Linked DNA regions of Homo sapiens: region 2 is linked to region 1. Evidence: promoter capture Hi-C in 16 types of primary human blood cells and fetal thymus (Javierre and others, 2016). All regions are on one chromosome and are shown on one strand. Each heading gives the region's core, a stretch centred on a gene start or on the middle of the fragment in contact. The rest is flanking DNA. Distances are from core to core; before and after follow the strand shown.

What was found. Contacts are between HindIII fragments. The CHiCAGO score rates a contact against its expected background, and 5 or more counts as called.
Region 2: a contact is called between a fragment that was not itself captured here and the fragment with the promoter of THAP3 in region 1, in 4 of 17 cell types (neutrophils, total B cells, naive CD4 T cells and 1 more). The highest score is 7.0, in neutrophils.

Annotation. Positions count from the first base shown.
Region 1 is chr1:6,623,392-6,627,230 of GRCh38, reverse strand. THAP3 (THAP domain containing 3) reads right to left here and starts at 2,363. Exons shown (of 6, transcript NM_001195753.2): 1 at 2,277-2,363; 2 at 1,939-2,081. The coding sequence starts at 2,012. It overlaps PHF13 (PHD finger protein 13), which reads right to left. Exons shown (of 4, transcript NM_153812.3): 4 at 3,201-3,839. RefSeq lists a silencer at 1,563-1,972. The HindIII fragment of the contact is 4,820 bases long and covers 1-3,707 here.
Region 2 is chr1:5,984,475-5,988,313 of GRCh38, reverse strand. NPHP4 (nephrocystin 4) reads left to right here. Exons shown (of 30, transcript NM_015102.5): 2 at 1,987-2,159. The coding sequence starts at 2,025. Among named protein-coding and RNA genes, the nearest start is that of NPHP4, 6.0 kb to the left of the region's middle. The HindIII fragment of the contact is 5,741 bases long and covers 1-3,839 here.

The DNA of each region.
Region 1 (3,839 bases), core at 1,114-3,613:
CTGGGGAGCAAGTGTGGCTAGAAGCCACCCCTGGGCCATGGCCCACACCCCAGGGCTCCAACACTTAGTGCTGGAAATAAGGAGGATCCAGCAAAGGAGACTGAGAAGAGACACCTGTGGCCAAGAAGTGTACCAGACGCCATGCGGGAAAAGTGACCCAGGCTCAGGGGTCAGTTGTGTGAAATGCTATGCAATCGATCAGTGTCACAAGGCTCACTAGTGATGTGACAGAGCTCTCGTGGGAGTGGAGGAAACGACTTCAAGAGAGAAGGCGCAGCAACTCCATCCCCAAGTACATACCTGACAGAGGCAAAACAGATAGATGCACTGCAACACAAGTCCCACCAAAACTGGCCAAAACAATGTTTGTTTTGTTTTGTTTTTTGAGACGGAGTCTCGCTCTGTTGCCCAAGATGGAGTGTAGTGGTGCGATCTCGGTTCACTGCAAGCTCTGCCTCCCAGGGTCAAGTGATTCTCCTGCCTTAGCCTCCTGAGTAGCTGGGATTTCAGGTGCGCGCTACCACGCCCGGGTAATTTTTGTATTTGTAGTAGAGAAGTAGAGACGGGGTTTCACCATGTTGGTCAGGCTGGTCTCCAACTCCTGACCTCAGGTGATCCACCCAGCTCGGCCTCCCAAAGTGCTGGGATTACAGGCGTGAGCCACCACGCCCAGCCTCCAGAACCATGTATTTGTCATCCAAAAAATGGGGCCACCCAAATGCCCTTCAATTGTAGAACAAATCAGTAAATTCTGGCACTTGCATTCAATGGAATATTATGTGGCAACGAAAGCGAATGAACTGCAATCCACTCTGATAGCGGGCAGGATAGGGTTCCCTTTGGGCAGGAGAGAGGAGGAGGGCCTGGGAGGGGGTCCAGGTAGGGGTTCTTCTCGGGGGTAGTGATGTTTTATTTCTTATTTTGAGATGAGGTATCGCTCTGTCACCCAGGCTGGAGTGCAGTGGCAAGATTATAGCTCACTGCAGCCTCGAAGCTGGGTTCAAGCGATCCTCCTACTTCAGTCTCCCGAGCAGCTGGGACTACAGGGGCACACCACCTTGCCTGGCTAATTTTTTTAAATTATTTGTAGAGGTAGGGTCTCCTTCTGTTGCCCAGGCAGGTCTCGAACTCCCAGGCTCAAGCGATCCTCCCGCCTCGGCCTCCCAAAGTGCTGGGATGACAGGCTTGAGCCACCGCGCCCAGCTGGTAACGTTTCAGTTCAGTGACGTTCACTTGGGGAAAACTCGCTGGGCTGTATACTTATGATTCGTGCATTTTTCTGCATGTACATTACGTATACTTCAAGCAAAGCATTTATCACAAAACAGAACAATGGGAGCAGAGGGAATGGGAACGATGAGCACAAGCCCCCCTTCGGAATGTGCCCAAAAGTGGGTAGAGAAATGGTGCCGTGACTGGACCTTGGAGAAAGCGCAACTGTGACTAATGACGATTGCTCCTGGGCCGGGCCGGGCCGGGCCGGGCGAGTGCTGGAGCAGACTCCAAAGTCTCCAGCGTCCTCCCGCGACCCTGCAGAGTCCCTTCCCACTGCCAGGACGCCCCTGGGGGTTCCACTCCTCCACTGCACTGCCCAGGTGCCGGGCTCCCTTCAGGACCGCGCGCGGCGGGGGCTGCAGCGACCAGGGACACAGCAAACCCCGGCCGCGGCCCGCTAGTCTGTTCAGCAAACACCTGCTCCGCTCCCTGCACGTCCCGGCCCTGGCCCCGCCAGGTGCGCCGCTGCCCCTCCGTCCGCCACTCCCCGCATCCCCGCGGCGGGCGCGGCGGCGCCAGCCCCTCTGGGCCCAGGACCTCGGCCTGTCCCCGGGCCCAGCGGCCGCACGCCTTTGGGCCTCCCGCCCGGCGCGCCAAGGCCTCGGAGTCGGTCCGCGGGCCCCGGGTCTGGGCCTCCCGCGCCCCCGGGTCCCCGCCTCTTACCGGTGGAAGGTGAGCTGCTTCCTGCGGCTGCTGTAGCGGTTGCAGCACTGCCGGGCCGCGCACGACTTCGGCATCTCGAGCCAGGCCTGGCTGCCCCCAACAAAGATGGCGGCGGCGGCGGGGCCTGCGGAGAGGGGAGGGACCTGCGGGGAGGGGCGGGGCCGCTGGGAGGTGGTGACGGGCCTGGCTCGCCTCCAGGGCGCGCTCATCCTGCCATCCCAGCCACCCGCGTCTCCCCAGGGTCGGACGGGACCCGGGGCGCCACGTAAAGGGGTGCTCCGGGCCCCAATTCAGGCCCGAAACCCCAACTCCTAGCCTTGGGCCTGTGCAAGTCTTACCCCATTCGCCAATGCTGGTCGCCTTTCACCTCCTTGCTTTGAGCACCCAACCAGGACGCATAGCCACTCACAGGCTTGGACAACTGGAAACCAACGGCCAACCCCTCAGTGTTTTTAGGGCTTTGAATTGTGAATAGGTCTGGACTCCTCTGACGTCACTGGAGGTGGTACTAGTTGGCCACTGGTGGTGTCAGTTCAGAGGCCAGACAGCTCACTGCCCTTAAGTTTGGTCACAGGGAACCCCCAAACGTGAAGAGGCAAAAAGGGCAACTGAAGGGGAGGGAGATTCCAGTTCAGGCCTTGCAGAAACTCCGAGGCTGCAGCTTTCTCAAAGCAGCCTATAGGGAAGGCGTCATCTTGTAAGAAGAAAAAAAAAAAAATCGGCCAGGCGCAGTGGCTCACGCCTGTAATCCCAGCACTTTGGGAGGCCGAGGCAGGCGGATCACCTGAGATCAGGAGTTCAAGGCCAGCCTGACCGACATGGTGAAACCCCATCTCTACTAAAAATACAAAAATTAGCCGCACATGGTGGCGGGCACCTGTAATTCCAGCTACTCGGAAGGCTGAAGCAGGAGAATCTCTTGAACCCGGGAGGTGGAAGTTACAATGAGCCAAAATCTCATCACAGCACTTCACAGCCTAGGTGACAAGAACGAAACTCAAGTCTCAAAAACAAAAAAAAAATCAAAAGTAGGCTAACCACTCACTGGGGCTTGAGCTAATCCTCAATCTGATGAAGAAACTGCAAAAACCATTCACATCTACTCGTCCTGTGGTTTGTTTCTAAGGAATTCACCAGCAAGGTACCTTAACACCGTGGGCATTTTCCATCCTGCTAAGTGCACACTGAGACGCTGCCTTCCCAGAGACTTGATGTAATCATGCTTTGGGGAGGTAGCAAGGAGAAAAGAAACACAATTGTCCTTCAGCACAGAACGCAATCGCCTGAACCTTGAATCATGAACCTCAAAGTAGCAATATATTTATTTACAAAATATACAGTTTCACAGAAACAGCTTCGCTTTATACACATAAACTTTAAAATTACACAGAACCATGTAAACGATGTGAAGTGTCTGGCCTGGCCAAAGCCAATGGGAGGGCCTACTTTTGGGGTGACATCCCTCCCTCCCCTCACTTCATTAGCCACCAACCAGGAACCACAGATGGGTCGTGCCTAATTTGCATATAAAGAAGCTGATTGCAGCTGCCCAGCTCAATCTAACACAAAAACCAAGGTGTCCGACTTCTTAGACACCACCCACAGGGACAGATCTGCTAAAAGAACAAAAATGCAATCAAGGAAACAAAATGGAGATGAGTATCACATGCATTCCAGAGGCATCGAACCTTCTAGCACACGTGACAGTTGCCAGGGCCGGCAGTTCCATTCTAAAGTCACATGGATTCTTAAATGCACCTTTAAAAGCTTGTGGAATTTTTTTTTTTCAAAGCAGAAAAACACTTTGGAGCGCTGGTTATTCACGTGGTGAAGACACTGGACAGGCGTTATCTCAGGGTAGATCTTTGGCAAATTCCTCTCCAATGCGTCCTGGCTGTTTG
Region 2 (3,839 bases), core at 348-2,847, 640 kb after region 1:
GTGAAGGAAATCCATCCCGATCTAGTTAGGGAGGAGTCTCTTGGGTCATTGTGGATATTCTTTGCTGCTGCATTGAAACCCTACGAGCAGAAGTTTCTTAAGGATTTGTTCTAAAGCAGAGTCTCCACCATGTGAATGAACTCTTCGTGCTCTGACATTAAACTCCTTTGGTCTGTCTTGCACTTTGGGTGGATGTTTTCTTCTTGCAGGATTTTGTACCATTACGCATTGTTCAGAAAATATTGGTTCACGGAGTCATGCAGACCTTCCAACTATTGACACATTTAATGGTGTAACCTTAGAAGATCACGTTATATCACTGCCCCTCTCATCAGGAAAGTCTTGAAGAAGTGTGAAGCTAGTAGGCTCATGGTAGAGGATACAAATGTTCTTAATTCTCATTTTTGCTTGGAAACTCCATTTTTGTTGCAGTTGTTTTCCCGGAAGTGACATGCTAACTTTGTTCACGTTTGAGAAGATGTCTGCCAAGTACCCATGTTTGTCTCTCAGTCATTCTTCTTAGTGAAAATGGTGTTGAATAATAAAAGCGGTGTGTTCAGCATGCAGCCCAGTCACAGCCAGGCTTCCCCGGGGATGACTGTTGCCTTTCAGTTTGCAGCAGAAATGCTTGTTGTGTATTTTCCATTTCGTCTCACAAAATTAAGAACGTGTGTACTCAAAGGTCAAGAAGTAATAAGATTAATAGTTTTTCCGGCTTCACCAAGGATGTTCTTACTTGAAGCTGCCTTGTTCTTTTCTGTGAGAGGTTGGGAGGACCTCACTCAACCCAACCAGCCTTGGGTTGAGTGAGGCCCCAGTGGCTTTCCCTGCTGCTGCCTCTGCCCCACCATGCCACCATGGTGAAAGAGATAACACCTGGGTGTCATGAAAATAGTTTTGACCTTGTAGAGCCCCTGACAGGATCCTGTTGAACCTTGGGTTTGGGGAATGTACTTAGAGAGCTGCTGTCTTAGAAGGCCAAACCCACTTCTTTTTCTCCTTACTCGCCATTTTAGTTTACGGAATTCAACCTCTTCTTGAGGTTCAGATCTTTGGATTCTGTGTTGGCTAGAGAAGATTTAGATCCCGGTCTGGCTGGACAGGATCAGATAACACTCAAAACGGGCCAAGACCCACCAAGAAGCTGGTAACACCTGAAACCTGTCCCCAAATGGCTTTAGCAACAAGAGACTTTGTTCATGTAGCTGAAGTGTCGTGGGGTGACCAACTGAGGTCTCTAATAATGACATGGGGACCCAGTGGCCCTCACTCCTACCTTTTCCTCTCTGCTTGTTTTTATGTGTGTCCTAAGGTGGCCCCGGGCAGTTTCAGGCTGACCACCTCTTGGCCCAAGGGCTGTATTCCCTCTCTCATGCTCCCTGGGTCCCCTACAAGACAGTCTTAACGCTAGGACTGTATTTCAGCAGCCACCCACCCCTGGTGTCCTTGTGTGGTATCCAACTTACACAGCTGAATAAAACATCCCTTCATGTCCCCATCCGGAACCAGCCACAGAGGTCAGGAGAGTCGTGCCCTGAGTCTGGCCCACGGGGGTAGGGGTGGGGCGGAGGGTTCTCTGGAGGTAGATTTTATTTCTCCATTTTATTTTTATTTCTGAAAAGGTAATTCGCATAGTTCAAAGTTGACAAGGATACACAGGAAAAGTGAATCATCCCATGTTGACCCCAGGTACCTGGTGTATCACCCTAGATACAGTGTGTTATTGTACAGCTTTCATAAATTCTAAGCAAATACAAATAAATATATCTACGTTTATTTTTCCTTTTTGAAATGCAAATGGTACTTCCTAGAGGAGGCAGCATGGGTGCCAGCCAGCAACAAAGTCCACTCTTCTGGGGTTTGCAGAGTGTGGGTTTGGGGGATGGAGGTTCCTCTGGGATTTAGTGGGAGGCAGAAGCCTTCAGGATTGCTGTGACCACTGTAGCCCTCACAGCTCTTCTCTTTATTTGAATACGACTGGCACAGATCATCCGGGAAGCCCACGGGACCCTCAGGCGGGCAGGATGAACGACTGGCACAGGATCTTCACCCAAAACGTGCTTGTCCCTCCCCACCCACAGAGAGCGCGCCAGCCTTGGAAGGAATCCACGGCATTCCAGTGTGTCCTCAAGTGGCTGGACGGACCGGTAATTAGGCAGGTAACAAAATGTGCTGTTAGCAAATGCGTGTTATTGCTCTTAGCTGACATGAGGCTTCCAGTTAACAGATGGATGGTCCCTGGCTTACGATGCTTTGATTTTTGATTTTGCTACTTTATGGTGGTACCCATATAGCCATTCTGTTTTTCACTTTCAGTGCTGTTTTCAATATATTACAGGAGATACCCAACATTTTATTTAAAAATAGGATTTGTGTTAGATGACTTTGCCCAGTTGTAGGAACATGCAAGTGTTCTGACCATGTTGAAGCTGGGCCACGCTAAGCTCTGATGTACAGTAGGTTAAGGGTATTAAATGCATTTGAACTTATGACATTTTCAACTTAAACAGGATAGAGTCCCATCATAGGTCAAAGAGCATCTGTATTGATTTTCACTTACTCGTTTGAGTCTTATACCACCATACCCATTACCTTGGGCCTTGGCAGTATTCGGATGCAAAGTGGCCCATCAGCAAAGAGAATCTATGATTCAATGACATGGTCAGCACTTTTGACTCTGGGTAGGGTTTCTTTCTGCCCACAGTGGAGCAATTTAAAAACCCAAGTACTCTGATTTCCTGGGTTATTTGTGAGCCAGGTGGCCTTGTGCATGGCTCAGCATGGCCCGCTTTCAGCCTGGCAGTGAGGACTGCAGGGGCTGAGCTACGGGCATTCTGGCAGCTCTGTGCGTGGCTGGATGTACCACGGCCTTGGGCACACTCAGGCCCAGGCCCTGATGGCGGCACATCCATCTGTGCCCTTCAGCTGGCGGGGAACCTGCTGGACAAGCTGGTGCTTCTGTGCTGCTGCCCACGGGACACCCACACGATTGGATTGTCCTCGTGAGGCCCAGTGGCCGGTGGGAATGCGTGAGAAGGATCAGTCTTGCCATTGTCAACCCTTTTTACAGGATTTGGCTTGGCAAGGCCGTTTTCCTCTGCAGCTGGGAGAGTGATATTCACATATATTCAGTTGTTGGAGCCCCGGGTCTGTGACTAATTTACTATTATTAAATCACTGATGTTCTATATCGTTCAATTCCAAGCCCTTGGATTGAGCACCTGCTGTGTCTTTGCCACTGTGGTAGGTACTGTGGTGGCTGCTGCTTTTGTAGCTTTACTTCTAGCACTTCACTGTGTTCATTCACTTAATCCTCAGAGCAGCTCTATGAGGCTGCCACCACCTTACTCCCGTTTTATAGACGAGCAGCAGCACCTGCTAATTAAGAGTGAAGCCAGCTGCCCAGGGCGACGGCTTTAGCTGGGATGCCACCCTCCTGGTCTGGCTCAGCCGCCTTCCAGAAGCTCACAGGATAGTTGATAGCCCTTCCCTCTTTCCTAGGAGTTTTGCAAAGGAAATTTTATTTCCCCATTTCATTTTATTTTTATTTGTGAAAAGGTAATGCACGTAGTTCAAAGTTGACAAGGATGCAGAGGAAAAGTGAATCATCCCATGGCATCCCCAGGCACCTGGTGTATCACCCTAGATACAGTGTGTTTTCGTACAACTTTCTTAAATTCTAAGCAAATACAAGTAAATATACCTACATTTATTTTTCCTTTTTAAAATGCAAATGGTACTTCCTGTATTCCGTTCTGTACCATTCTTTCTTTTTTTTTGAGATGAAGTCTCACTCTGTCACCCAGGCTGTAGTGCAGTGGTGTGATCTCAGCTCACTG